4 separate regions of the Homo sapiens genome follow, and regions 2, 3 and 4 are each linked to region 1. The links are contacts of gene promoters, found by promoter capture Hi-C in blood cells and fetal thymus (Javierre and others, 2016). All regions are on one chromosome and are shown on one strand. The core of a region is centred on a gene start or on the middle of the fragment in contact, and the rest is flanking DNA. Distances in the headings are between cores, read along the strand shown.

Region 1 (7,618 bases), core at 2,188-4,687:
GTTAAGTTCTTCAGCTCTCAAATTTGATGTATGTTCTTTCTTTCATTCAAGATGAAACAAAGTTAAGGACATTCATTTTCAGGGCTTTATGTATAATAGATAGGATTAGTGGGATTAAGAACCACATGACATGTAAAATAAAACTACACAAATATTTAAATTATTTAGTATGTGTGCCTATGGCACATAACAATGTCATCCTGCTGTGTCAAGGGAACTTAAAGCATCTTTCCATTATTCATTCCCACAGTTACCTTTCAGGTAGGTACACAGCTAGGTTTTCTCTCTAAACCTAGCCAATAAGAGAAAAATGCCTCACTGTTAGAAAGAATTAAATAGAAATTTTTCTCCTTCCAAGCTGATTTCAATAAATTGCTTCAGGATGTTGTTTTAAAATTGCTATTGGTTATTTTAATTGATTTAATGAGAAGCTTTTTTTTCTTCTAAAAAATTAAGGCATGTTCTCTTCTTCCTCAAAAGAGAACAACAATAGTAAAAAAAAAAAAAAAAGAAAAAAAAAGAAAAGAAAAAATGGCTGTTGCTTCATAGGATATTACAAAACAATGAAAATATCAACTAACCACACAGAAGAGTATCACTGCTACACTCACCTTGCTCTGAGCCCATTCTTTCCTATGAAGTATTGCTCATGGAGGTAGTTGTTTTTTCAGAGTCTCATAATAGTAAATATGTCTAAAGCATTAGAGTGAACTAATCCTATTTCTATGCCTAAAATAGTGCTATCATCCTATCAAGTAAACATGAATCAAATAGAAAAGATTTCATAAGTTATAAAGGCAATTTTTTTTAGAGATGTCATCTGATTTAGAAGGCCAACATTGTAATTTTAATACTGGGATATAAAGAAAAATCACTGGGGCTGAGACATTAGAATTACCCCACTAGTTATTGAGGAGGTCAGAATTTACTTTGTCATTATAAGCATTCTAGGTTACTGAATGAGAGACTGGTGTACTTCAGTCAAAAAGCTTAACAATTTCCCTTTTATGTGTTTGATATGTGAATACAAAGTGACTAACATTTACTCCCTGGCCTCAAGAAGGTCCTTACAACTCTTGACTTTCTGAAAACCACTTTGAGACAACATCTGGTCAGCTCCTCAGTGTGACAGAGCTCAATGCCAAGTTGCAACACAGAAAGAACAGGAAGGCCTGCTGCCATTCATTCACTACAGTGAAGGTACATGCTTTTTAGGAAGGGCTTACATTTAAAAGTAAATTACTGAGAGGTATTTTTCTAAGTAAAATTCACCCTTAAACATCTCTTATGGAATTATCTGGTGCCTCTTGGGCCAGTTTTTCCACCATGATTTGAACAGATCATTGTTTCATTGGCTGACTACCCAGGTTACACTTAGAAACTTTGAAAAACATGTATCTTTAAACAATGTATGCACATTTGGAAACATGGTTTTGTTTTGTGCTTTTTAAAAGACAGAAAAGGGATCACGCTGTACTTATACATCTCATTTATATCCCCCACACATCAAGGTGTTTAGGAGGTTTTCAATGTATCTGTAGCAAGTTATACATTCTGAAAATGGCCACAGCAATATTTCTGGTCCCATATGCTCTTTGAGAACCTTGCCTCTCTCCACCAAGAGTAGAGTCTATTTCCCCTCCTGTCAAAACTGGATATAATTTTGTGTCTGCCTAGATACAATGCAGCAGAACTGACACTACATAACTTGTTTTTTGTTTCTTTTTGATGAGAGGGAGTCTCCCTGTGTTGCCCAGGCTGGAGTGCAGTGGCGCAATCTCGGCTTACTGCAACCTCCGCCTCCCGGGTTCAAGTGATTCTCCTCAGCCTCCTGAGTAGCTGGGACTACAGGCATGAGCTACCACGCCCGGCTAATTTTTGTATTTTTCGGCAGAGATGAGGTTTCACTGTGTTGGCCAGGCTGGTCTCGAACTCCTGGCCTCAAGAGATCCTCCCGCCTGGGCCTCCCAAAATGCCAGGATTACAGGCGTGAGGCACCGCACCTGGCTAGAGACTACATGACTTCTAAGGCTAGGTTATAATGGGTAATATGCTTCTGATTGACTTTCTCGCACGATACTTGCCGTGGAACCCAGCCACCAGGCTGTGACAAAGCCCAAACCAATCAATGCTAAAAGACCACCGGGAGAGGTCTACATGGACTAGAACTGAGGCCTCCAGCCTTTATCCTGCATCAACCATCAGCGGTGAAAGTGAAGTTTTCAAATAATTCTACTCCTCAGCCTTAGAGTCTTCCAACTGAAGCTCTACGCATAATGGAGTAGAGAAAAGCCATCCCAGTTGTGCTCTGTCTGGATTTCAGAGGCACAGAATCTGCGAGCATAATAAATACTTTATACATAGAGTTTAGATTACGGCAAAAAGTTGCAAACGTGTTCCGTCATAGAATTATATATTGAAAACGTCCATCTGCGGCACACCAGACCAGCTCTATAAATCAGGTTTTTAACAAAACCGAATTTGTTCAGTGAGCGGGTGAGTTACACTACCTGTCTCAGCTCAGACCTGCCGGGAGTCAATTGTGGACTAGAGCAGAAGGCGCCCAGCCACAAGCTCAAGTTCTATCCCCTTTGCACTCGATAGGCAGATCCCCTGGGAGGATCAGGCCACCTGTTTACCAGTGCTTCCTAACCTATTTGTGTCACAAGTTTAGGAGTGTGCTTCTTAGCCCTGGTCACTCTCTTTCACCACCTCTCTCTAACCCTTCCCCAGGTGTGCTAGCAATTGCCCAACACCTGTCAGTCACTTTTGCCTCCAATTTTACTGGGTGCGAGGAGCAGAGTAAGGAGGGAGAGGAAGAGGGCTGACTCCCTTGCCTCAAAGTGGCAAGGGCCAGCTGAACTTAATTCACACTGCAAACCACCACGTTTCGACAGCCATCCCCATATTTTCACAGCTCAAATCTTCCTTTCTTTTTCGGTCGGCTTCTCTGATTTGCTCCATTTTTAATCGCTCCTCCCCCATCCTCCTTGCCCCTGGTCAGGGCAAACATTAAACGCTGTGCAGCTTTAAAAGGGCATTTTTAGGTGACTTGTAAACGGCTTGTTCCACAGGCCCCGAATTGGCGAGATTCGCTACAGCTCGGAGTGCGCGGTAGACTTTAAGCAGGGAGCGCCTGCCCGGTCCATCCCTCCCCGGCCCCGCGTGGCAAGCACCGCAGGTTGAGGCGCCCCCAAACCGAGGAAGAGGGTTTGGGAGCCTGTGACTCCAAAGCCCTCTGCAACTTCCCGGCCCCACAGCCCCACCCACTAGCACGCGGCCTTCCCCGCAGCCCGCAGGAGACACCTTTGTCCCCGCCCCTCCACAGGTCACCTCCCTCCACGCCCCTCTCTCTTGGCCCGGGCAGCCGGCAGGCAGGGAAGTGTCGTAAAGCCAGGCCCAGGAAACTTTACCCGGCCTAACAGCTGAGGCGCTTTACGGCGACGGCGGCTGAGTGAGAACCTTGGCGGCTGTGGAGGCTGCCGCGGCTGCGAAGGAGGCGGCGGCGGTGGCGGAGGAAGAGGAGTGGCGGCAGCGGCGGCGGGGACCCGTGCGGGGTGAGCCGTGAGGAGGGGCCGCGAGTGACAGGGCTGGCGGGTGGGCCCGGGCGGACGGGGACGGTGGCCGGCTGAGCAGCTGGGCGGCGCTGAAGAGCGGGGGGGTGGCGGGGAATTGGGGGGCAGCTCCGTGAGGGACGGTTTCTGCCTTTGTTCCCCCCACCTCGGCCGCCCCCCATCCGTCGCCCCCTGTTCTCCGCGCTCCTCGGCCGGGTTTCATGGCCTCCCCTCTCGGTCTGTGTCGCTTCTAGGATGGCGGAGGTACCGCCTGGGCCTAGCAGCCTCCTCCCACCACCAGCACCTCCGGCCCCGGCGGCGGTCGAGCCCCGCTGTCCCTTCCCGGCGGGGGCCGCCCTCGCCTGCTGCAGCGAGGACGAGGAGGACGACGAAGAGCACGAAGGCGGCGGCAGCAGGAGCCCGGCGGGCGGAGAGTCGGCGACGGTGGCGGCCAAGGGGCATCCGTGCCTCCGCTGCCCTCAGCCGCCGCAGGAGCAGCAGCAGCTCAACGGATTGATTAGCCCCGAACTGCGGCACCTCCGGGCGGCCGCCTCCCTCAAGAGCAAGGTCCTGAGCGTAGCAGAGGTGGCCGCGACCACAGCCACCCCTGACGGAGGCCCCAGAGCGACTGCAACAAAAGGAGCCGGGGTACACTCGGGCGAGAGGCCCCCTCACTCCCTCTCTAGTAATGCAAGAACTGCGGTCCCCAGCCCGGTGGAGGCAGCGGCGGCGAGCGATCCCGCGGCGGCCCGCAATGGACTGGCCGAGGGCACCGAGCAGGAGGAGGAGGAGGAAGACGAGCAGGTGCGGCTGCTGTCTTCGTCCCTGACCGCCGACTGCAGCTTAAGAAGCCCTTCGGGCAGGGAGGTTGAGCCTGGGGAGGATCGGACGATACGATATGTCCGATATGAATCCGAGCTACAAATGCCCGATATCATGAGACTGATCACCAAAGATCTGTCCGAACCCTACTCCATTTATACCTATAGATATTTTATCCACAACTGGCCACAGCTGTGCTTCTTGGTAAGTGGATAGAATAAAAAGAGGGTGAACCCAGCAGTGATCGAGACTGTGCGGGGCAGGGAGTGAGGGCCCAGAATGTGGCAGTGGATATCTCCTGCTGCGTATCATAGTACGTTATATGATGTCAAGTGCTGTACACATTCCTAGTTATTTAATGAAATTGTTTTGAAGGTAAGACTTCATGATTCGGGTTAACGTGATACTAGTGTAACTGCAGCAAGCCTGTATGGTGGCGTGTTTCACTGGGGTGGGGGTCTTGTGTCTTGTTTACATTAGATTATAATCGTGTTTAACCGTCTTTAATTACCCGCCCGCATCCTCAAACACTTTACAGTCATTTAATTTGAACATGGTTCTGTTCAGATACAGGCCTTATTAGTCTCTCGATTACAACCATAATCAGGGAAGAGTGTATGCATAAACATGTTGTGGTGAACATGGATGTCAGCAAACTTGGTGTGGTCATATTGGAGAATTAAATCTTACAAGCATTTTCGGTAATTATGGAGATGTTTCTCTTTACTTCAACTGGACAATTAACAGTTGTAGCCAGCCTGCTTTCTGGTACTCCATTCCAGAAAGCGCTACTAACACTTCTGGTGGCTGAAAGACTCCTGAAACTTGAACAAAATACCCTTTTGTGGAATGTAGAAAACTTGTGTGAAATTGTTACCGATCTGATTTTTTTTTTTTTAATTTAAGAAACTGGTTGTAGATGTGGCCAAACACTAGTAACACTGGCTTGTGTAGAGTATAATTGACAATAATATTACACGTAAGTGAAAGACTTTTGGACGGTTTTTAAAAATTAACATAGTATTGGCAGTACCAGTAATTTCTTCACAATAATATTGACCCATTTCAGTCTGTATGAACCCTTTAACTTAAACGTTGACTGCAGGTGTATGCTTTGTATCATGTGCTCACAAGCATATTGTTTCTGTTGAATTTTACTACAGAAAGATGACATCCTTTTAAGGAATATTTTTTAATATGTGAAGGGAAAAGCCACCATTACTTAATGTTTTAGCATTGGCTTAGTTTCACTTGGTAATTCCCTGCAAGATATTTTGACAATACTTATCTTTTTGATTCTCTAGCTTGGTGATAATTTGAAAATGTAACCTGGGTATTGTAGATAATGGTAGTTCTATTTTCTGTCTTAACTTGCTTAAACTTCAATTCAGTACATTTGTTAAAACTGTGGGTACTACTTTATATTCTTGAAAACTGCTCTTTCAGTATTCTAAGCATTGTATCAGAATAGTTCTAAGACATGTCTGTGTCAATGAATATGAGAAAATGATTTATAGCACTATTATAAATGTCATATCAAATGCCACTGTAATTGCTAAAAATTGTAGATTTAGTTGTAAGTTAACCCACAGAAGTAGATGATTGAGTCACATTTCAAGTTGAAATAGATGTTTTTCTGTCAATTCCAGGAAATAGTTGTGTATATGATATTTAGTCAACTTTGAGTCCTGATAGTTACCTAAGCCTCTCTCAACTTGTTTGCTATTTTAGACTCTGGTCAACAATATTAGTAAACTTTAGATTTGATTTTATGTAGAACCCTCCCAATTCACCAGCTAATGTGTATGTTAGCCTTTAGTAGCTCAAGTTTGTTTAATATTCTGAGTATCTAGAATTGCGATATGCACAAGTGGTTGACCTATAAGATTTACTGGTGCAAGTATGAATCAGGAGGTATTAAACAATAATAAAACAGTAAAAAAACAACCAGGCCATTTAAAACTGAAGCCTTTATCTTGGCATACTTTTAAATTTAAGTTTCCCATAGGAACTATTTTTTTAAAAATACAGATGCGTAAATGTCTGTTTATTTTAAATCATATCCTTTTAGAACTGAAAGCCATCCTAGAGATAATCTAGCCCAACTTAGGTTTTGTTCTGTTTTGTTTTTTGATTGAAAAAAAGTTAAGAACCAAAGTGACTTAAAATGTTTCAATCTCCAGATATTTACTGACAGAGGGGTAGGTTTTGTTTTGTTTTTTGATTGAAAAGAAGTTAAGAACCAAAGTGACTTAAAATGTTTCAATCTCCAGATATTTACCGTCGGAAGGGTAAAGCTAGAACCCAGTTCTCCTGGCCTCTCATTATGGTAACAAACAAGAACCTGAAAAATGACATACCCTTGATCCATTCAGTGAAGATTATTGTGTCACCAAGTTATCTTCACCAAGGGACAGTTGCCCTTACATCAATCTCAAGAGATTAAAAACCTCCAAAATGTTCCGTTTTCCGTGGATAACCTGTAATGGGTCAATGGAGTATATGGGGTTGAACCTTACAAAATTGCCAATACTTGATTAATAAAAATGATAGCTTATTATGATTCTTCCTAATTGTAAAAGATGTAAAAAAAAAAAAAAAAAAGGACAAATGTGAGACACTTTCAGTTACTCTGTACTTAACCATTTTATCTTTACCTGTTTTCATAGTAACATTTTCAGTTGTTGGTATCTTTTTGAAGTTCTTAAACTTACTCTCAGCAAATGTAACATAGTACTTCCATTTATTTGTTCTAAATTTAACTTTTTGGCTTCCTCCAGTTTTCTATTTGTAGTGTTCTAGAATTTGGGAATCTCTCACTTTATTTTTTTCATAGTTTTATAGACTGACAACCCTTTGGCCTTGTAGTGTTAAGTCTTAATCTTGCCGGGGATTTTTCAGTTCCCATCCTTGAAAAAATACATTTAATAGCGTGAATTCCAAATGTATATGCAGAGCTTTTATTTGGAAAAATTGACAAGCAATTTAGTGATTCCTGTAAATGTACCACATATTCATGAGTAGTTTATCAGGAAAAAAAAATGCAGCATTGGTCTTCACTACTAATGTCATCGTAATGGTGTATGATATATTGGGCTTTTTAGATGATGTATACAGCTTGATTTTTGCTCCTATAGATTCTAAATTAGGAAGAAATCAGGTCTTAAGAATGAACTAATTTAATATTTTGTTTGCTTATTCCATGCTCAAAGGACAAAGATTTGTTTGAAATTCCTGTTCAG
Region 2 (7,618 bases), core at 2,629-5,128, 2.2 Mb before region 1:
AGATTATAAATAACCTTAACACAAGAGCAATACTTTCAATGTGACACAAAAGATTAACCATATAAAATACAAAGCATATTTACTATTTCAAGTCAATTTGTTACTTGGTATTTAAATAATTTCTAGAGGTTTCCAGGTTTCTGATTTTTAATAAGATATGAACTCAAACCCAGGTATTTCAACCTGGACAAGAGTTTAAGTGGTAACACTGTTGAAGCCAGCATGGCAGTCAAAGCAAAAACTAGTGATAATCCTTAAGGGTTAATCTTAAGGGGGGACCTATAAGGTCCAGCTGCTTTATCTGTGAAGATTCACTGTGTGTTTCCTTTCTTGATCTGTGTTTGATTTTTTACTAAGAATCTAGCCAGGTTACTTAATCTTTGGTACTTTTTTTAAATTAAGAAATTATACTGGCCAGGCGTGGTGGCTCACGCCTGTAATCCCAGCACTTTGGGAGGCCGAAGTAGGTGGATCACCTGAGGTCGGGAGTTCAAGACCAGCCTGGCCAACATGGTGAAACCTCGTCTCTACTAAAAATACAAAAATCAGATGGGCGTGGTGGTGCACGTCTGTAATCCCAACTACTCGGGAGGCTGAGGCAGGAGAATCACTTGAACCCGGGGAGCGGAAGGTGCAGTGAGCCAAGATCGCGCCATTGCACTCGAGCCTGGGCGACAGAGTGAGACTCTGTCTCAAAAAATAAAATAAAAGAAAATAAACTATATCATAGATTATAGGCCAAGGGGTTGGGTCCTCAAATGGGGCATCTTTTTTGAAGACCTTATTAGAAACCATGCTAGATGCAGGCAGAAATTTTAGTTTATTTAATTCTTACAACTACTCTATGCAGGTATTCCATGTTAGGAATAAGAAAAGAAGCTCATAAACTACATAACTTGCCCAGGGTTATGCAACTAATTGGAAGCAGAGAGAGTATTCAAACCCAGGCCTAAATGAATCCAAAGTCAATGCATTTCACCCCACTTCACCCTATGTCTTGGCTAATTCCCACATACAGGTTTCTCTCAGCTGTGTTTTTATTATTTTTCTCCATCTTCTAACAAAATTATGCTTTCTCTACCTATAAAGCTCTGAAAATAAGATACCTGAAAAATAACAAGAGTAAATCCTCTTGATGCTTTCTTATGGTTCAGGAAGTTTTAACACACATGTAGGTTAACCTTTTGAAGCAGTTCTTTATGTTTAATTTCAACTTTATGAAAGTAGCAATGAGATTTTCAAAGCATCTAGAATTAAAAAGATGTTTATTCTCTACCTTGTCGGGTTTTGTTTCTACATTTTTGGCAGGTCTTCCTTTACTTGGCACCTTTCCTTCTGGTTCGTTTTCTAAAACAACAATAAAATATTTATTTTACTAGATAGAAATGCTACATGAAAATACTAGGTAACTTGGGAAAGGAAAAGAAGCAACAGTAGGAATATATGTCTTGAAGGATTTTTTTATTAAAAGCCATATTATAAAAAGGGTTATGGAATTTCCTGCCAAATACAAACCATCTCTTTTCAAAACCAGAGTGTTTTACCCTTTTCATCTGAATACCAAATACAGATTGAGTATCCCTTATCCAAAATGCTTGGGACCAGAGATATTTTAGATTCCAGATTTTGGAATATTTACATTATACTTACAGGTTCAGCATACTTGATACAAATATCTAAAATCTGAAATGCTCCAAGAGCATTTCCTTTGAGGATGACCTTTGAACTTCATGTCAATGCTCAGAATTTTGGATGTTTTGATTAGGGTTGCTCAGCCTGTACATATTTATTACAGACAATTAGAAAAATAACAGAAAACTACAAAGAACAATAATGACAAATCACCCAGGATTCCATTACTCAGCTGTCACTTCAGGGTATGGTTTTCCAGTCCTATGTCCACATATTCCCATAATGCTTTTTAGAACTGCGATCCTACTGTTCAGAGTTTGACCTGCTTTTCTTTGCCCACTTAATATATCATGAACCATGTCATTAAGTGTTCTTTAATAATATTATTCTTAATGGCTACGTTGTATTGCACCAAATAAATGAACTGTGATTTACTCGGACCATTAATTTTTCACTTTGAAACACTGCTTATACTAATTAAGGTCTTCAATGATTGGGCACCCATTGTGTGCTAACCAGATGTCAGGGCACAGAATCTATTTTCAGGTATTAGAATTTCCTGTTTCCTTCTCTCCTACTCAAAGAAGTACTTGTTGATTTTTGAAACGGAACACAAAAACCTCAAGGACCAAACATTCTAGTTCAGTCACTGATCAAGGAATAGTTCTCACCATTAGCAGCTCTTGTGACTGGCTTTCTTGCTGTGGTAGATGAGACTGTTCTGGGAACCTGCTTTGCTGCTTGAGTAGCTGATCGAGTCATTCTCAACGACGTGGGCATTACAGGCTGCACAACTGTGGGAAAAAAAAATAACTACATCAAATGTCCCTTGTAGTTATGAAATTATTGCTGTGAAGCCAGGCATGGTAGTGCAATGCCTGTAGTCCCAGCTACTTGGGAGGCAGGAGGATTACTTCAGCCCAGGAGTTCGAAACCAGCCTAGGCAACATAGTGAGACCCCGTCTCTACAAAAAATATAAAAATCAGCTGGGCATGGTGGCAAGTCTGTAGTTGCAGCTACTCAGGAGGCTGAGGTGGGAGGATCACTTGAGCCCAGGAGGTGGAGGCTCCAGTGAGCTATGATTGTGCCACTGCACTCCAACCTGGGCAACAGAGCAAGACTCTGTCACAAACAAACGAACAAATTCCAGTTGACCTTCAAGACACTTAAAAAAAATTATGGCTGTGGTAGCCTCAGAGGATTTATAGTAATTGCTAATATTCCTACCTTTTTTCTCTTTGTCTGACACTTTCTTTTCAGAAGTTTGTCTTGGACCAGGTCGGATTGCTCGAACATCACTCTCGTTATCAATCTATTTAAGAGATTAGGTGCTATGTGATTTAATTGCATAATGAATCAGACCATCATATTTTTAATCTGTAAATTGATTCCTCATATGAAATCTGATCATCGTAAATGACCCAACAACAACAACAAAAAACTACCCCAAATAAAATGAGATAAAGAAAAGCTTTCCATTAAGCTTCCAAAAAAGCTTACATCCTTTTTCACAATCACAGAATTTGGAAAATGCTAATAACCCAAGCTATTAAAAACAGCTCACTATAACTTGCCTTCTGAAGGTCCTTAAACACTCCTAGACATACTTTCACTTCAAGACCTTTTAATTTTGCCTAGAAAATACTTCTCCTGGATAAAAAGCGCTTTCCCATGGTTCTCTTCTCCACTTCCATAATGACTTCACTCAAAAGGCTTTCATCTCAGGGAGGCCTTCCTTAACTGCCCAATCAAAATTCTACCCCATACCTATTTCTAGTACACCCCATCTCCCCTTTTTAAAATCTCTTCCATAATACTTATCATCTTCTGGCATATTATGTATTTTTTTAAATGCCTTACATGTAAGTTCCACAAAGAGAATTTAGTTTATTATATCCAAAAGCCTACAACACCAGGAACATCATAGCAATGCAAAATATATATGCATACGTGGAACTTAGCTTCCTCACCTGATAAAGAGGCATATTATTTCCCTTCTTGCCCACTTCACTTTGTTTTAGTAACCCTCCTGATATCTCTATTACAGTATTTTGAAGACCCGTAAGTTTATAACACCTACCCTGTGTGCTTTCCTCCCCATATGCATTTCATGCAGGTAACTTGGAATGCATAATAGGAGCCCACTAAACAAAACAAGAGTGTGACACAAAGACAGTTTGCCATGGATCTCATACGGAATGTTGGAGCAAATATTTTAAGTGAAATTGCTCTACATCACCATACTAAAAACAGTGACTTTGGTACCTGTTAACTCTAGTAAATTAATCATTATGTTTGAATCTGATACTAGATTTAAAATGAATTTACTTACTAAAAAAGTGCAATTTATCATTTTAGTAACAATTATCTACTATCAACTATACCTTAGTCTGCTCCATTTGGTCTTTGGCCTTTGACCTTGTAATCCGTACAGAAGATGGAATAGCCTTAGAACAGTCAAAAGAAGATGAACTTAAAATATGAACTGGTAAAGGTTTACTTCCATATCTTATTACAAAATAAAGTTCCCATTTTAAAGTTAAATTTTATCCTTAATCTCTTATAGCAAAAAGATACTTAAATTCCTTTTTCTGGTTCTAGCTTGATTTAAATTAAGTTAGTAACTTCAAAAATTACTCACATTTCTCAGTGAGAAAGAAATTTCAAACCGTATTTTCCAGGTATTGGAATCATCATTAATATGAGCTTCTATCCTCTCTTAGTTCTCCTGCCTCTCTGACCAGTCCTCAGCCTGGTACCTGGCTTCTGCCTACCTAAAAGTGCTCTCTAGAGCCCACTTTTTCATAATTTTATATATCCTTATTGGAATGGTCTCATTTAGTCCTACAGCTTAAACACTCATCCATATTCCCAATATTATATCCTAAATCGACATCTTAGCACCAATTTCCATCCTTCTTTCCAAATTTTTACTAATATCTAGGTGGCCCACACAAGTTTAAGATTTTTAAAAAGGTTATTAACATGCACCCACTTAAGCTTGTTCCTTATCTTCCTTATCTCTTTTAGCAGCAGAGCTTCTCTCTGCTTTTTCAATTTCCTTTACCCCTCACCATCTACTTGGCCACCAGTCCTGTCAAATGCCTTTATTTAGATGTCTTACACCTATTTTTTCCTTTTAAAACCCACTGCCCCTTTCCATCTATTCTATTACAATAGTCTCACAATTGGTCTCCCTATCTATAAATGCTTCCCTTTCCAGACTAAAATCTTTAGGGCTATGGTATTTTCCTGAATTATTAATTTGACAACGGCACTACCCTTATTTATAAACTTCTCCTGATTCTGCAAAACCTACAGGATAAACACCAAATCCTTTGCATAACATTGTTCAGCCTGATTCTACCAATTTTCCTAGTTTTATCCTATCTCAACTTACCTACAGCTATCTTAAGAGACCTGATTTTCATTCTTCTGAGCTACTATTATGTCATTCCCACCTTCTACCAACCAGTTAATAATGAGACTAAGGGAAAGGGGTTAGTCACTTAATGTCTTGAAGAAAATACCAAATAAAAGAAACTATTCCTTTATATTAAGACACTAAATTTACCTTTTTTGGCTCAGCTTTCACAGCATTCTGGTTTGATAAAAGAAAACAAGGCATATCAGGTCTATAACGACCCACTTTAAATATTCCTCGTTTAGCTTTCTCTCTCTGCTCTTTCAATTTTTGAAGTTGCTTTTCTTCTTTGTATTTTTGGAGCATCTGTTTTCGTTGATCACCTAGAATAGTTTTCATTGCCCCTAGGCAGAAAAAAAACCAAAACCACACAGTATATAAAACATTTCAGATGAAAAGTTATGCAAATGTATAAACAATTATTTTTGTGTCATTTCAACTGCTGCTAAAAAATGCTTTCAGGCCAGGCACGGTGGCTCACGCCTGTAATCCCAGCACTTTGGGAGGCTGAGGAGGGCGGATCATCTGAGGTCAGGAGTTTGAGACCAGCCTGGCCAACGTGGTGAAATCCCATCTCTACTAAAAATTCAAAAATTAGCTGGGTGTGGTGGCGGTCACCTGTAATCCCAGCTATTCGGGAGGTTGAGGTAGGAGAATTGCTTGAACCCAGGAGATGGAGGTTGCAGTGAGCCAAGATTGCGCCCCTGCACTCCAGCCTAAGCAACAGAGCAAGACTCCGTCTCAAGAAAAAAAAAAAGGCTTTCAATAAGCCAGGCACAGTAACACACCTGTAGTCCCATCTACTGGGAAGGCTGAGGTGGAAGGATCATTTGAGCCCAGGAGTTCAAGTTCAGCTTGAGTAACAAAGCAAGACCTCTCCGCACAAAGGGAAATGCTTTTAATATTTCTTGTTAATTCTTTAGCACTCTAACCACAAGTTATTTCAACCCCTAGTCTTTTAAAATTTGTATTCATTTTGCCTTCATGTGTTCAAATATTAACTGCTTGCTATGTAATAGGCATTTATTACTTCACTTTTAAATTAATTAACTTGTATGATAGCCAGCATCCAAGCTGCCCTCTACTGATCCTCACTTCCTGGTAGTCTTGCCCTGTGTCATCCCCTCACACTGAATAGGGCTGACTTGTGTGACCAAGAGAGTATTACAGGAATAATGGAATATGACTTCTAAAACTAGGGTAGTGTTTGCCTTGCTCTCTCTTGAAGCGTCGCTTGCTCTGGGAGAAGCCAGGTGCCATGTGGGGCCTTAAGAAGACTCAAGCAGTCCTATGGAGATGTCCACATGACAAAGAACTACAGCCTCCTTCCAAAAGCCAGCATCAACTTGCTGTTCATGTGAGTCAGTCATCTTGGAGGCAGATCCTCCAGTCTCAGTTAAGGCTTCAGATATATCTCTGGATGACATCTTGGCTGCTATCTTCAGAATCACCCAGCTCAGCCATACCCAAGTTCCTGACCCACAAAAATTGTATGAAATAATCAATATTTATTGTTTTAAGCTGCTAAGTTTTGGGATAACTAATACAATTATAGGTGCTATTTATTATAATAGATGTACTCTATTTCTTCTCACCTACTCAAGGACATTCTTCCAGCAACTTATCCTCTTACTCATCTATTTTTTCCTCTACTGAATTGTTGCCATTATGAAGTTACAAGCATGCGGTAATTTCTCCCAACCTACATCCTCATCTAGCACTTATTTTTCTAGTCCCATTTAAGGCAAAATTCTTCAAGAGAGTTACCTGTATCTCTACTATCAACACTTTTATTTATTTATTTATTTGAGGCAGAGTCTCGCACTGTCGCCTTGGCTGGAATGCAGCGGCGTGATCTCGGCTCAATGCATCCTCGGCCTCCCGGGTTCAAGCGATTCTACTGCCTCAGCCTCCCGAGTAGCTGGGATTACAGGCGCCCACCACCATGCCCAGCTAATTTTTTGCATTTTTAGTAGAGACGGAGTTTCACCATTTTGGCCAGGGTGGTCTCGAACTCCTGACCTCATGATTCACCCACCTCGGCCTCCCAAAGTGCTGGGAGTACAGGTGTGAGCCACCACGCCTGGCCTTTTTTGAGACAGAGTCTCACTCTGTCGCCCAGGTTGGAGTGCAGTGGCGCAATCTTGGCTCACTGCAACCTCCACCTCCTGAGTTCAAGCAATTCTGCCTCAGCCTCCCTAGTAGCTAGGATTACAGGCATGCGCCACTGCGCCTGGCTAATTTTTGTATTTTGAGTAGAGATGGGGTTTCACCATGTTGGACAGGCTGGTCTTGAACTCCTGACCTCAGGTGATCCACCCACCTTGGCATCCCAAAGTGCTGGAATTACAGGTGTGAGCCACCAAGCCCAGCCTATTTCCAACACTCTTTACATTCCCTCTCTTTTCAAAATTATGAAAAACTTCTAATATACACACAATTATAATGAACCCCATATACCTATTACCAAGATTCAATAATTATGAACATTTTGCTGCAGTTGTTTAAAACAAATTATGCTTAGAAGATTTCATCTCTAAATACTTTAGTATATACTTCTA
Region 3 (7,618 bases), core at 1,537-4,036, 2.1 Mb before region 1:
AATACTGTGGGGATAGGAGGATCTGGGACCTTGATTTGTTTCCCATCCATTGTACTGGAAGGGCTGCCCTTGCTCTACATGTCTCTTACACCGCCCCACCATGAGAGTGCAGATCACTATAAGATAAGTTAATCTAAGGAACTTTTAAAAAAATTAAAATTATCTTCTAAACTGTCTGTATATATCAGGGTGTGCTTTTTTACTTCTGCTAAGAGTCTCCAAAGAGACTCTTGATTTTTAGCTCTTATCAGATTTTCACAGGGGCACAAGATCTAAAAAGAAGGATAAGAAGGATAAGAACTATGATTTCCTGGGTTTCAATACTTATTCAACTTTATGTCCCTCACCATCCACATCTTAATTATAAGATAGAATCATATCTGTTAGACAGTGTGCTGCCTTGGTGCTCTAGTTTTCCCTGAGTTGTTCTATTTATTGTGGATAATATTTATATTCTCATGGCTGAGTAGCTCCTGCCCATCCCCCCGTCATCACCAATGAGCTTCACACATGCATAAACCTGGGCATAAGCTCAGGGCTTGAAGCATGCTCCAACGGCCACATTCCAGGCATATTTTTTAAGTACATGCTTTACTTTTGCAAAGTTGAAACTTTTAAAAGCACTTCTGCTTCTCTTTTCTTATTTGGTCTTTATAATAACACAGTCAAGTAGGTAGGGAAAGGCATTATCACACCCAGCGGCCTAGGTTCTGCAGCAAAGTAGGTCTAGATGCAAAGTCTAATGGAGCCTGTCTCTTGGTTTCCTTTCTCCAGCAGCGGGGAAGTAAGTTTGATAAGGAGGGTTGGGGGGTGAGAGAGAGAAGATGAAATGGTGGGTGTCCTAGTCTGTTTTATGCTACTATAACAGAACACCTGAGACTGGGTCATGTATAAAGAACAGAGATCTATTTCTTACAGTTCTGGAGCCTGGGAAGCCCAAGGTCAAGGGGTTCATAACTCTTGAGGGGCTTCTTGCTACATCATCCCATGGTATAAGGTGGAAGAGCAAGAGAACACCTAACAGAGTGAGAGATAGAGAGGGCCAAGCTTGCTTTTATAGTAACTCCCTCTCTTGATAAGTAATCCACTCCCTTGATAATGGCATTAATCCATTCATGAGGACGGAGCCCTCATGACCTAATTGCTTCTTAAAGGTCCCGCTTCTTAACACTGTTGCATTGAGGATTAAGTTTCTAACACATAAACTTTGGGGGACACGTTCAAACCATAGCAGTGGGTGTTTTTATTTGGAGGTTGGAGTAAGCTTATTAAGGAATAAGCAGTAAGTTCTTAGTTTTTTTTTTTTTTTTTTCTGAGCAAAGAACAGAAATGAAACCAAGTCTATACAAGACAAATCCCTTGAACTGAGTTTTAATTAATATGTTTGCTGGCTTGAAACAACTAAGTTTTAATTACTAATGGAATAACCAAATATATATACTATATATATTTAGAACTTTTCTGCTGCTGTGCCACCTCAGTCTTGTTCTTCTTTCGGCTCTCACCAGTCCCATGGCCTCAATGTGCCACCCCATGCCCACCTGGGGAGCACCTTCCTGAAGACCTACCACAGGACCTGTGGGTTGATAAACTATACTGGCTCTACTGGCTTTGCTTCTAGGGGATCATTGCCATTATACAAATGGAGAAACAAAATCAAGGGAAGTTCTTGCCTAACATGGTTATGCTCTCTCCTAGTTCTTTTCTCCTAGACTGGGGCTATTTAAAGTGTGGTTCACTGGCCAATCTGAGACAAGAACTGAAATTGAGAATCAGATTTTAGAAACTTTACTAGCAATTTGACAGAATAATTTTATGTCTGTGGACTTTAATAATCAATAATTCATAGGCTAGGCATGGTGGCTCACTCCTGTAATTCCAGCTATTTGGGAGGCTGAGAAAGGAGGATTGCTTGAGGCCATGAGTTTGAGACCACCCTGGGCAACATAGTGAGACCCTGCCTCAAGAAAAAGATGAAAAAATATAATAATTAATAGTTCGGGCTTTTATTATGTCTTTTAAAATTAATTTCATTTTTATATCAATTTTTTGAGTCCTCTAATCAACAGGAATCAAGTTTTGTTTGTTTTTTTTTTTTTTTTAGATGGAGTCTCACTCTTGTCGCCCAGTTAGGAGTGCAGTGGTGTGGTCTCAGCTCACTGCAAACTCCACCTCCCAGGTTCAAGCGATTCTCCTGCTTCAGCCTCCCAAGTTGCTGGGACTACAGGCGTGCCCTGCCACACCGGGCTAATTTTTGTATTTTTAGTAGAGATAGGGTTTCACCATGTTGGCAAGGCTGGTCTTGATCTCCTGACCTCAAATGATCTGCATGCCTTGGCCTCCCAAAGTGCTTGGATTACAGGCGTGAGCCACCATGCCCAGAAGGAATCAAGAGGTTTTAAGAAGGACAGTGTTTGAGATGAATCTGAAAGGATAAACTGAAGTTTTACAATTTTGAGCTAACTATGACATAAAGAAGCTTCAAATGATCATGATATATTGAGCTAATATTGCTCACATATTAAATCAGACATACAGTTTGATGCCACGGTGTACCATATAACACCCTTCCTTAATTTTTTTTTTCCTTTTTGAGATGTGAGCCACCGTGCCTGGACTTCCCCTCTCCAATTTTTATTAAAAATATGTATATAGATAAAGGTCTAGATGGAGATACTGAGTGGTTATTTCTTGGTGATGAGATTATGGGAAATATTTTTATTTTGTTTTTACGTTTTAATATTTAAGATTTTACACATATATTTTACAACAGTAGTTTTATAATTGGACAAAATTATTTTTGTTAAGGACTGGCTAAAATCAAAGTTGCTGGTTTAAGTGTAACTTGGTACAACCTTTTAAAAATCATTTGGCAGTTTGTATTAGTAACTGTGAAAGTGTTGATAGTCTTTTTCACCTAGTAATTTCACTTTTGGGTATCTTTAAAAATCTACATTCATGAAGATGTTCTATGATTTCTTTATAATGGCAAAAAGTGAATGAAGGAAACAAGTTATGTCCAAAAATAGAGAATTACTGCAGTAAATTTTATGTCCACTTAATGTAATTTTATGCAGCTGTTAAACTGGTTATGAAGCTTATGTGGAAATATGAGGAATGCTTATAAAAGTGAAAAGAGGATGCAAAATCGCGTACAACTACTATTACAGTGTAGTAAAATATATGTGATGGGGCAAAAGGTCTAGAAGAAAATACATTGTCCTCATGTTTTTCAATGTGGTTAATATTATTTTCACAATGAAAACAATAATAAGCTTAAAGATTGGGAATCAAAAGTTCCTCACTGGCCCTCTGATTTGAATATAAAGTGTTAAAAATTTATATCCATCATTAACCAGCCCTTAAGCTTCTACAGACTTTAACAGTTTCGTGTCAGCCTCAACGTTTATCTACTTTCTGACCGGTATCCCTGCCATGATTTTCATAGGAAAGAGAGTCAGAAGGGACCTTTCCAATTTTGTCATTTTACAAATTGAAACTCTGAACCCCAGCCTTCCAAGCTAGCAGCAGAACCAGTATGAGGATCCAGGTCTACTAGGTTATCTAATAGTATCTGAGACCATTTACAGCTTCAGGTCCACCCACGAATATTCATAAACTTGACATGTCTGCTGATTGAACCCTGGCGTCACTACCCTTCTTGGCTGGCCTGGGAGGTTTGATTCCTTTCCCTACAGTCGTGCTCAAACTTTCATTCTCTACCACTTGGGGGCCGCAGACGCGTCATCCAGGTCTCCCTTTTCACTTCCCCCTTCCCGCCCCCAGTGTCCGGCAGGGGGCGCCGTGAAACTCTGGATCCGTGGCCCCTCCCCCGGCCAACCGTCGATTGGGCCGGCGCGTGACGTCACTCCGTTTTAGCCAAACAAATGGGTTTCGGGGCGAGCGTTGGGCGCCGCCGCGCCGCGCTGGGTGCTCGGTCCGACTCAGCGGTGGGGAGTGAGCCAGGCCTCCCGCCACCGCTGCTGCCGCCACCACTGCGTCGGGCTGGTGCAGCCCCGGGCCAGGCCGCGGCCGGGGCAGGAGCGCAGGTGGGTCCGGGCCGAGGTGGGGCGTGGCGCGAGGGCCGCGCGACTGGGGTCCGGCGGCGGCCACCGTGGCCGCTCCCCGCCCCCTACCGCCGCCTGCCTGCGCTCCCGGGGCGCGGGGCGGGTGGGGGTGGGGGCGGGGGCGCCGCCCGCGGGTCCGGGGTAGGGACCCGGCCGCCTGCGCCTCCTCCGGTGCGGCTCTTTCCGCGCGCACGGCCCGGGCGCTGAGCGTCCCCGCGGGCCACGGAGGGTCGGGCGGGTAGGGAGCGGGGTCCTGGGTCCCCGCTGAAGCCGAGGAGATTCACGGATAGGCCGTGAGCTTGCACCGGACCGGCGCTCCCACTTACGGGACCCAGGGCGGTGAGGAAGTCAGCCTCTGGACTGGGGTCGCCTCGCCCCTGTCGCGCCCTCCCGGGCTCGGCCACTCTGCCCTTCCCTGCCCCAGCGCAGGTGAGCTGGCGCTTGTCCTTAACCTTCTTCAACGACGAGGCGGGACGGAGGCTCGGACGCCTCCCCAGCCTCTGGGCTGGCGCAAGTCGACTGCGGTTCGTCCTCAGTCCACGATGAAGTCATAGGGCTGTGGGTCCGTGTGTCTGTGACGTCAGAAGATGGGTCCTGGGATGTCACTGCAGGCCCGGGCGGGGACCTGGGCTCACGGAAGGGCCGGGGGGACCCGCAGGGTAGAAAAAGGAAGTTGTCTTCCACGAACGCTTGGAATCGCAGTGGATTTGAATCGAAAGTTGTTCGGTATCAGCATTTTGCAATTTTAATGTAATAGTTGTCAATTTCTTTAACTTCTTGTCCAGCAAGCGTTGCGAGTACAGCTCAGTATAAGACATTTGATTTAGAAAAACTTAAGTCAGGGTAGGAGGTTTTTTGGAGGGTGTAATGTAAAAAGCCTTTTAGGAAGCTAAATTCGTAGTTTGATAGTTTGCAATCAGAATTACTGAAAAAAAAGAGAACCACTTCTAGTGTTGATAAATCAGTTTGCTTTTTTTTTTTTTTTTTAACTGGACATCTATCTGCTTGTTAGCATTTTTTGTTAGAAAATGGCCAGGAGGAGGGAGAGTGGATCTTACATGATTTTTTTTTTCTGTTGTAAAGGGAGGGAGGAGTTTGAATTAATCCAACATTTGTCTTAAATAATAATTACCTGAGGAGTTAATTTATCCAGGTTGTCCCTATCCCACCCTATGGTACCATGCTACCACCCCATGCTACCATGGTTTAGAAGTCAGCAACAAGCTGTTTTCTTGCTTTCTTACTGAGACCCGGCTATAACTTAATATAAAAACATATTCCAGGACCGCTTGTCTGGATAGGTAACTAAAATTTTGTCTGTAGTGCTTTTAAATATGAAATTAGAGAATAAAAAAATGATTTGTCTGTGAATACTGTTTTTCTTCCAAAGCTTTCAGAAGAGATCTAACTGGAAGAGAAGCTAGTCACTTTGTCATAGTGACCCTCTTCGGGTATTCCAGCATATCAGTACTTTTCATTTCCTCCTCTGTAGAATAATGTAAATGGAATCTAGTTCAAAAGGTAGATGGCTTAAACTTGAAGCATAGTTAGTCTTTAGCAGGAAGCTTGGGTAGAAGTCCTTAATCCTTCCTCACTGACCTTGACTTGTAATGGTACGGTTTTTTTTTTTTCCTCTCTCTCAATACTTCCTGCTCCCCATTTGCCTTTTAGAGGTGATTGATAAGATACTGTCTCTCTGGGTTTTACATCAACATGCAGATGGAAGTTATGCCCATTTTCAGGCAGGAAATAAAAGCAAAAATTTACCCGTTAGGTACTATTGGATTTGACTGGAAGTTCACAAAACAAGGCTTTCCTGTACATGTTATTTTGATCCTCACCACAACCTTGGGAATTTGACAGCATTGTGTGCGCTACTGAAAGTTGTTCTGGTTTTTTCTTCCTTCTTTTAAGAAATGAGGAATTTTATGCTGACAGTGTTGAGTGAAGTCTCTAAAGATACAATTTTGTATACAAATTATTTTTCGTATGTACAAATTTTGTATACAAAATTTTGTATGAAAGATACACATTTGAGCCTTTGGATCACCAGAGACTGAGAGGCACTTGAATTATTATGCAACTGCTGATATTGAGAGTGTTAGTCAACCTTTAAGATGAAAGAATCTTGGCAAGATACTATGTAATGCAATTGAAGGAGGTCCAAAATGGACGCTTGCATGTGTCTTTCCCGAGCGGTAGCGATTCTGGGGCCGGCTACACGGCTGTATGTAAGTTAGGTGTACTAGTTTTTTTGTATGTTTTTTTGAAACAGAGCCTCGCTCTGTCACCCAGGCTGGAGTGCAGTGGTGCGATCTCGGCTCACTGCAACCTCCGCCTCCCGGGTTCAAGCGATTCTCCTGGCTCAGCCCCTCGAATAGCTGGGACTACCGGTGCGTGCCACCATGCCCGGCTAATTTTTGTATTTTTAGCAAAGACGGGGTTTCACTGTGTTGGCCAGGCTGGTCATGAACTCCTGACCTCGTGATCCGCCCACCTCAGCCTCCCAAAGTGCTGGGACTACAGGTGTGAGCCACCGTTCTCGGCCAGGTGTGCTAGTATTAATGGGAAAGGATGAAAGTCAGACTAAATAAGAGTTGAAAGACCTGCAGCTGATAAGGAGATACCTGCTATTCGGCAGTGCATTTTTCCTCTCTATTTTGCTTAGCAGTTAGGAAGTTTTTATTTTTCCTCATGGAAAATGAGTTAATAGGTGAAGAATAAATGTCATAGTGCATACTGATGTGACTGAGGGACAACGACAGATATTTAAAAAGCCAGCTTGTGAGTGTTGTGTAATTATCTAACAAGCCAGAACTCGTGTGAAACATTTTTACAGTCTGTTTCTATTTTTGGCAGGATCTTTTTCACCCATGCTTTCCAGTTTTGGGTCTGGGAAGCAGCTTTTACTTCATATAAATGGTTTTATGGAAATTAATTTTGAGATTGGTTTATTATTTTAAGTCATTTTATTCACTTATATAATTTGAAGGCACTAAATTAAACAGTCATTCGTTATCCATCTTTCTGATGGATAAAAGCAAATGTCAAGATGAGAGTGCTGTATTGTAGAAATTCCTCAGGATATGTTTATTGGATCAGTTATTTTATTAACATTTAGAATTTAAATTCTTAAAAATTTTTACTTTATTTTTTAAACTTAATTTATGTTCAGCTAGCTTAATTTGACAGTTTTTATGTTCTAGTAACTTTAATCTTGTTTTAATATTTGTTTGGGAGAAAACATACTTATCTTTAGAGACATCATTTAGTGTTATCTTCCAAAATTTGCAGCTGTTTAGAACCAGATACTTGAGGGAAGCTACTATGGTATGATGAATGCCTTCCTTGTTAGGTCATGTGTGACAAAGGCAAAATTCAGCAAGTGCATAATCTGCAGTCCTTTGGAAGCAACAAAAACAAAAAAGAGCAGATTAACTCGAAATGCATTTAGGTCATCTGGAAATTGAATTCCTGTCAGTTCTTATCTTTGCATAATTTATCTTCTCCCCTTTAGTTAATGCTTATGGTATTTTGAAGCTGATGACATA
Region 4 (7,618 bases), core at 2,693-5,192, 2.1 Mb after region 1:
TCTCTCGGCTCCCTCTCTATTTGGGGGGACATTGCAATCCCAGATTCTTCTCATAACAGCTCCTATAATATAAAGCCTCATTGACCTTTTGCTTTGTCTGACAGCAATATAATATAATGCTTAACAGCATGTGGTCTGTTCAGAGACCCACCTTCATGACCTGGATCTGCTACTCACTAACTAACCTCTGGTAAATTACCTAACTTCTCCAATTCTCCGTTTTATCATCTATTGAAAAACGATAATAACAGCACAGTACTGACCTTGTAGGATTCTTGTGAGGATTAAATGAGATGGCATGTATCAAGTGCTTAGCTTGGAAACTGATGCACAGTGAAGTATCCAATAAATGTATGTTGTTATTTTTATGTTCCATTTCAGATTTTGAAGACAGTATGTTCCAAATTTTTGCATACAACATAAATGGTTTCACATGTTTCAGATCACTATATGATGTAGAGATCCTTAAGGAAACTCTAATATTCAGAAACACCAAATCTTAAAAACAGCTATATTAGGATAGATTGTTTGCTATGTTAAAGGACTCTTTATGAGTAGAATAATTTACTGAATGTAGATCATTCTGTAGTAGATTTCATTTACTACTGAGATAAGATTCATTACTTAGCTGTTAGCACATTTAAAATTTTATTCCATTACAAAAATTTGATGTTCCACAACTTTTCAGGGCTTTCACATCCTATTATATCAAATAAAACACTATTATAAAATAAAACAAAAAAACAAAAAAAAACCCCAAATCCTAATGGTTCTCAAACCTTTTGGTCTTAGGACCCTTTTATACCTTAAGATTTGAGGACCCCAAAGAGTTTTTCTTTATATAAGTTATATCTATCAATATTTACTGTATTAGGAATTGGATATATCTGTTCATTACTTCATTTTAAAAATAACCCATTATACATTAACATATGAATAACACATTTTTGTGAAAATAACTGTTTGCCAAAACAAAAAAAATTATGAGAAAAGTGGCATTGTTTGATATTTTTGCAAACCTGTTTCATGTCTGGCTTAACAGAAGACAACTAGGTTCTCATATCTAGCTTCTGCATTCAATTGGTTGGGTTATCACATATCACATCGTAGCCTCTGAAGAACCCCACTGTACACTCTTGAGAGAATGAGAGTGAAAAGCAAATAATGTCATTATTATGAACACAGTTTTGACCCTCTGAACCCATGGAAAGGACCTTAGGGGCCCGCTGGGGCCCCAAGACCACACTGGATAACCAATGTCCTAGTTGAAAAGAAGTTTTTACAGGCCTGCTTTAAAATTCTCTTCTGAGAGCTGAGTGAAGAAATTTATCAAACACCCAACTCAGGCCTCTCCAGTCTCATGAGTGACACATTTATAAATAAGAAGCTAAGGGTGCCACTTACCCTCACAGCTTTCCCTGTGAATACTGAGCCAGTTGCACTGCTTTTGAAGGCTCTCATCTGGTTCAGTTCCAGAAGCCCTTTGTGATACTGTAAGGCAATTCGGGCTGTCACTCCTGAGCCAGTGGGACTTCTGTCAACCTGTTTCAGAATAAATGAAGACAGAATGTTCATAGTGTGTTCCATATTACCTGGCTTTTGTCCCTAAACATTACAGTTTTAATACCTGTTCATCTGCAAAAACACAAATGTTGGTGGTTGGTTCCTTGGTATAAGCATCTTTTCCATCTGTTAATATAGTTCCATATAAAAAGGCAAGGTCTTCACTATCAGGATGATTAATTTTAAACTGCAAGTAACAAAAAAAGATCACATGCAAAATAAATATTTTGATTCAAATTTATAAATAATGCAGATGGGTCATTCTTAGACATAACTTTTTAATCCTTATCATTTTTAAAATACCTTTTTGGGCAACGTATACTAATTGCTAGAAATTATGTCTTTGTCTAGATGAAGAAACATAGTTTTACTGCAATTTATAATTCTTATCATACTTTGAGTCCCTTCTAAGGAAGCTGTCCTGCATATAGCCTTTGCTAAAAAAGCAGTCCTATTTTATACACCCCTCCCACCCCAAATACACATAGTCTTTGCAGCACTGACCCCAGGATGGTCAATCCACAGGCTGGCGATGGCTGCTCAAACAGGATGAGCTAAGGCAATCATAGTCTTATTCTCAGGAGCTTAAGGAGGATAATGTGGGAAAATCAGGCTCTGAGTATCTAGAGCTGAAGTTAACACCAATGATAGAGACAAAGGCTGTGAGAGGATATAACATTCTGTAAGAATGCAGAAACTATTAGGCAAGAGAAACAATTGGAGGAAAAAAAGATTTATTGTAGACGATGAAGTCAGTTGATTCATCAAAAAGCAGCAGATATGCACACAAAGAAGCAGGCACTGGCAGGGTAGCTAAGTCACTCAATGGTAGATTCAGGCCCAAATATGCAAAGCTACTTGTTCTTGGAAGTCTAGTTCTTTAACTTTTCCTGGATTTCTGCAAACATTTACAGTATGACTGAGATTGCTATAATCTGACTTCCCTTGTATATGCTTACAATTAGTACTTTCTACTTCCAGTTACATGTCATTTAAAGCAATGGAACAGCTTTGGGTTCTTAACATCCAAAGAGTCCATCTGAAACCAAGTTAAAGCGGCCTGCAGATTGAATCTTTGTTCTCCATCCTCTTAAAGTGATACGCCCCACCTCCACTATAGCACATTCCAACATAACACTGTTCACAGGTATGCTCGCTTCCCCAACTGGAGCTAGCTCCTCAAAGGTGGGGTTTGTTCTTTCTTCGAGTCTCCAGGATCTAGCAGAATGTCTAACATATATACAGTATGTTTGTGGTAAATGTTTGTTAAAAGAGTGAATGAATTAAGATGAATTTATATTAACTTTAACTCTCCATCCCCATGGCCTTTTCCTAAATCTGCTTCAGCAGTGTGAATAGTCAACAGTTCACAGAGTAATTAATTGTACTGTCTGATACATCAATAACAGAACTTGTCCTCATTTTTCTCAGAATCCTTCCTCCCTCAAAGTCCACCCCTTGCCATCTTGTTGAGTTCAAACTCAAATGAGAAGTACAAAATTACACCTTTTATTAAGATATCCATGACTTTTTCTCTTGAATTCATGAAAAATTAGGAGAAATTATTTTGTGCCAAATTGTTAACTCAGACTATTAGCTGTCCTGCTTAATGGAACAGAAAACTGATGTAAATTCAGAGCTTCAAAAGTTGCTATCATAATATAATTGCACATATTGGTACTGGCAGTACCAGAAAAATAATTTAGAATACTGATACAGTGTATATTCTCATTTTAAGTTATAAATTATTTTAAAATAAAGCTTCAGAAAATGATAATTATTCGTACATTAGACACTATCTTACACAAGTTACTTTTTACTACTAATAAATTCTCACATACTAAATTCTCACGTACTAAACATTCAAATACTGTACATGTGTTTTATTTATAGGTCCCAATTTCAAGGTAAAATGTGCTTCACTCGTGCTAGAAGTGAAAGAATATCCTAGAATTATTATCTAAACTGATTTTATCAAATTAGCTTTCCCAAGTAAAAACTAGAGTTATTTAAGTAGTTATTTGAGTAACTTCTTAGCAATGTAGGAAAAAAATAATAGGAATTAATGTTCTCTATGAAATAAGAAAAAGGCTTAAATCTATTCTGTACACTATATTTTACATTTATTATTTTCAAGTTTAACAGAATGACCACACACATGCATTTAAAATTTGCAGAATTCTATAAATATATTTCTACACATTTAAGGAACTATAAACTATATTAGTATGTATGTATTATTAAATTTAGTAACTGCTAGGTGTGGTGGCTCACACCTGTAATCCCAACACTTTGGGAGGCCGAGCTGGGAGAATCACTTGAGGCCAGGAGTTTGAGGCCATCCTGGGCAACATAGTGACATCCTGTCTCTATATAAACACACACACACACTCACACAAACACAGATTTAGCTGGGTGTGATGGGGCATGCCTGTGGTCCCAGTTACTCTGGAGGCTGAGGCAGAAGCATCATTTTGAGCCTGGGAATTTGAAGTTACAGTAAGCTATGATCACACCACTGCACTACAGCCTGGGTGACAGAGCAAGACCCTGTCTCAAAAAAAATAATATTATCATTTACTGAACATTTACTATTGGCCAGACACTACTCTAAGTCCTTTACATGTATTGACTTATTTCATTCTCACAACCCTACAAAGCAGGTATTTTTTAATTTCCATTTTGCAGACAGGAAAACTGAGGCATATGGAGGTTACGTAACTTGCCCAAGGTTATATACGTTACCAGTGGTAAAGCTAGAACTCATAGATAGTTTTGCTCTAGAGCAGGAATGTCCAATCTTTTGGCTTCTCTGGGCCACACTGGGAGAAGAATTGTCTTGGGCCACACATAAGATACACTAACACTAACGAGAGCTGATGAGCTAAAAAAAAATTGCAAAAAAACTCATAATGTTTTAAGAAAGTTTACAAAATTTGTGTTGGGCCACATTCAAAGCCATCCTGGGCTGCATGTGGCTCACAGGCCACGGGTGGGACAAGCTTGCTCTAGAGCCTAAGATTTTAATAAGTACCCTATTCTTAGTACTATTAATAATTTAAACATCATTTAATTTTCTTTATAGACATAATAATGTATATTTCCTCCATGCCACAGAGAAGGGAATTGGTTATGAAGGCAGAGTATTACTGACCTGAGCTTTCACTGCCTCTGTCACTGCACTCGCTGCATCCACAAGGTCCCTGGTCTTTGCAGAACAAATGTCTAGTCCTAACTTTTCAGCAGTAACAAATGCATAAAATGCACCGCCATATGCAATGTCCACCATCACCTTTCCATGTCCAGGAACATCCACCATGAGATCTAAAAAAAAGATGTGTTTGGAAAGAAGATGTGTTTGTTAATAAGTATTTTAGCAATAAAATTCAAAGGATTTTTAATATGTTTATTTTTCAAGAGGGATGTTCTTTTCCTATCATAAAAATAATGAAGTAAAAATCCGTTTTTTAAATGAATAAGCATCGAGTGAATAATAGCTAGATGCATCATTCTATTTTTAACTTGATGATTGCAGAAGTTATAAACTAAAGCCATGCTTTCCCTAACTCATACAGACATATTCATTAACTTCCCTGAGGATCTTTTCTAGGAAACACCCCTGAGGCCGAGAGAGGGAAACCCAAGGGCATCCCTGTGAACACTAAGAAGGAAAATGTCTATTCCCCACTTGTACTATGAGAGATGGTTTAAAATAGTGAGGGTCTTGGATCCTATTTACAAATCAATTTTCTTCAGCCGTAATGTCAAAACATAAATTTTAATAAAAGATTTTTCTATATAAATTATATACACTTATCTACATGTTTTCATCTCCTTAAGGTATCCTGCAGGCAAACACAGAAAAATGCCATTGTAGAATCATTGACTGCTACAGCATCATTTTGCACCAGGGTTTTTATTTGAGCATTTTAAGTCTCAACATCCCCAAAGTTTCACCTGAAGGTCAGTAGTTTGAAATCTTGAATCTGTATTTCCAAAGAAAGGGGGCTGGGTGATGTTTATTTCGCCCCTTCTCAAATTTTCCTCTTCCCTAATTTAAGCTAGCTTGGTGATCACTGCCTTTTAGGGAAGCCTATGGCAGGGGAGAAAGCTTGTCTTTCATGTTTTTATTTTAGGGAAGCCTAAGCTCTCAGGGGAAAGACATCTGTTGGCAAAGGAGTGTCCTGAAGGGAGAAATATTTCTCCTAGAGATAAATTTTTTCTCCCTTGAGAAGAGTGGAGGCTGAAGGTCCTTAGTGCAGAGAGGACGTGTGTTAACTTCCCCCAGGGCACCACAGGAGCAGGAGTGAAGAAACAGAGGATGGGGAGGCAGTGCAGAGGGCAAGGACCAGGTAGGGTGGGGCAGCCAATGCTCCTGCTCCACTTTGCTGGTTAACTGTGTAAGCTGAGGACTGAAGTGCCATCCTCTCCAAGGCCACAGCACTTTTAAGAAACCTTTGCTCACACATATCAGGAAAGGGGACAACACATGGAGTGATGAGGCTAAGTGAACCAAAAGGACAGAGTAGAGTTTCAGCTTCAGAAATTAAGTTTTGGGAAAGAAAATATATCTTGTGTTCCTGAGTTTTCATACAAGGTCATACAAAGATATCAGTATGCTATCAGTCCACAGAAGGCTATCAGTATGCTATTAGTCCACACTAGTCCACAGAAGCCCTTTTAACCCATGATGTGTTAAAACAGAGCAAGTTTATAATCAAAAGAGTAAAACATGCTGTGGATTGTAACAACAAAACTGAATAAAAAATGTCTTTATCTTGATGCTGGCGCAACATGAAAAGCAAGTTTAATGAAAAGAGAATGGGCAAGTTGATAGAAATGAGGGACTGCTGGAAGGTGGAAAGCTAAAGTGAGGGTGAAGATCAGCACTTACCAGGAGACACAGGTGACGGTCCCAGGGTTCAGTCGGCCTGCCCTCTTCCCTTGATTGTAACAACTAAATGGGGCATTGGCCACCAATCCCGGGACCAGGATGAAATTGGGAAGCTGGTTCAGGAGAAGTCATCCCTGAGCCTACAATCATTTCCCTGGCCCAACCTTTCTAGAATCTTGGGTCTGGTTTTCTTAGGGTGGGCAGTTGGGTAGGGTGCTACACCTCACTGAGTTTCAGTTTCCTTTTCTTTAAAATGGACCAAATTTCCTTTAAAGTTACTCTTGTCCACCAATTATCTGTGACTATTTCATTTTTTAATCACTAAATTACTAACATTAAAAATTAAGATATTTATTTCACCCATGAGTACTTCCTATGTGGCAGGTCTTTACATACACTAGCCCCTTAATTCATTACATTAGTGCCTTAATTACTACAGCCCTGAGAGGTAGGTACTGTTTTACTTACTATCTTTACATTATTCCCTGGTTTACCCACTAAATAAGTGGCAGAGCTTGGGGTCAAACCCAGGACCAGGTGACTCCAAAGCCCAAACCCTTTCTACTAAAATATACAACCTCTATCCAGAACACAATCCAAAATCTAAGGGTTTTTCTTTTCTTCTATACAAGCATATCACTGAAATTTCAATTTGATTTACTTTGCTCAAGATTTAGTGAGCACCTACTATGTGCCGATTACTGTAGAAGATACGAGAAGTACAAGGAATAAAACATAGGCTTTTCCCCTTCTTGGAGTTTAGTTGGACAAGACAGATTTTAAAATGCTTTAAAATACACTAAGCACTATTCTAGAAAATTGAAACATATCTCCTTAAACTACAAAAAATTTTAAGGATGAGAGGGAAGCAATATGATAGGCCAGGGTTCCAACCCTAGTTCTGCCATTAGTGTGGCTTTGGTGTCTTGTGCAAACTGTAACTGCTATTTCTCCTAAAAGAGTTGTTTTGAAAATTCCACGTATGGGGAGTTCCTGGCACAGATTAGGGACTCGAAAGCCAAAACTTTAATTTCCAGTGGCAATAGGTTTCTCAAGAGGACCAGATGTTTACATTTGTCAATCAGCATATTCTTCTCCAAATTTCATTTATTTAGTTACTCATTCAACAAACATTCATTGACTGACTACTCTTCTAGGCAC

The links. Contacts are between HindIII fragments. The CHiCAGO score rates a contact against its expected background, and 5 or more counts as called.
Region 2: a contact is called between a fragment that was not itself captured here and the fragment with the promoter of NAA30 in region 1, in 1 of 17 cell types (fetal thymus). The highest score is 6.4, in fetal thymus.
Region 3: a fragment that was not itself captured here is called in contact with the fragment with the promoter of NAA30 in region 1 in 4 of 17 cell types (fetal thymus, naive B cells, total CD8 T cells and 1 more); the score reaches 8.8 in fetal thymus.
Region 4: a fragment that was not itself captured here is called in contact with the fragment with the promoter of NAA30 in region 1 in 1 of 17 cell types (total CD8 T cells); the score reaches 5.2 in total CD8 T cells.

Annotation. Positions count from the first base shown.
Region 1 is chr14:57,387,149-57,394,766 of GRCh38, forward strand. It overlaps NAA30 (N-alpha-acetyltransferase 30, NatC catalytic subunit), which reads left to right and starts at 3,438. Exons shown (of 5, transcript NM_001011713.3): 1 at 3,438-3,557; 2 at 3,809-4,580. The coding sequence starts at 3,810. RefSeq lists an enhancer at 3,422-4,417 and silencers at 3,546-3,685, 3,816-3,965. The HindIII fragment of the contact is 6,905 bases long and covers 988-7,618 here.
Region 2 is chr14:55,178,353-55,185,970 of GRCh38, forward strand. DLGAP5 (DLG associated protein 5) reads right to left here. Exons shown (of 19, transcript NM_014750.5): 3 at 5,208-5,401; 4 at 4,018-4,080; 5 at 2,861-2,945; 6 at 2,304-2,426; 7 at 1,277-1,347. Among named protein-coding and RNA genes, the nearest start is that of DLGAP5, 9.4 kb to the right of the region's middle. The HindIII fragment of the contact is 1,505 bases long and covers 3,127-4,631 here.
Region 3 is chr14:55,267,489-55,275,106 of GRCh38, forward strand. FBXO34 (F-box protein 34) reads left to right here and starts at 3,933. Exons shown (of 2, transcript NM_017943.4): 1 at 3,933-4,049. FBXO34-AS1 (FBXO34 antisense RNA 1) reads right to left here and starts at 4,590. Exons shown (of 2, transcript NR_184222.1): 1 at 4,394-4,590. RefSeq lists a silencer at 3,985-4,484. The HindIII fragment of the contact is 618 bases long and covers 2,478-3,095 here.
Region 4 is chr14:59,474,465-59,482,082 of GRCh38, forward strand. It overlaps L3HYPDH (trans-L-3-hydroxyproline dehydratase), which reads right to left. Exons shown (of 5, transcript NM_144581.2): 2 at 4,718-4,887; 3 at 1,628-1,750; 4 at 1,405-1,542. Among named protein-coding and RNA genes, the nearest start is that of L3HYPDH, 6.1 kb to the right of the region's middle. RefSeq lists an enhancer at 6,404-6,503. The HindIII fragment of the contact is 1,241 bases long and covers 3,323-4,563 here.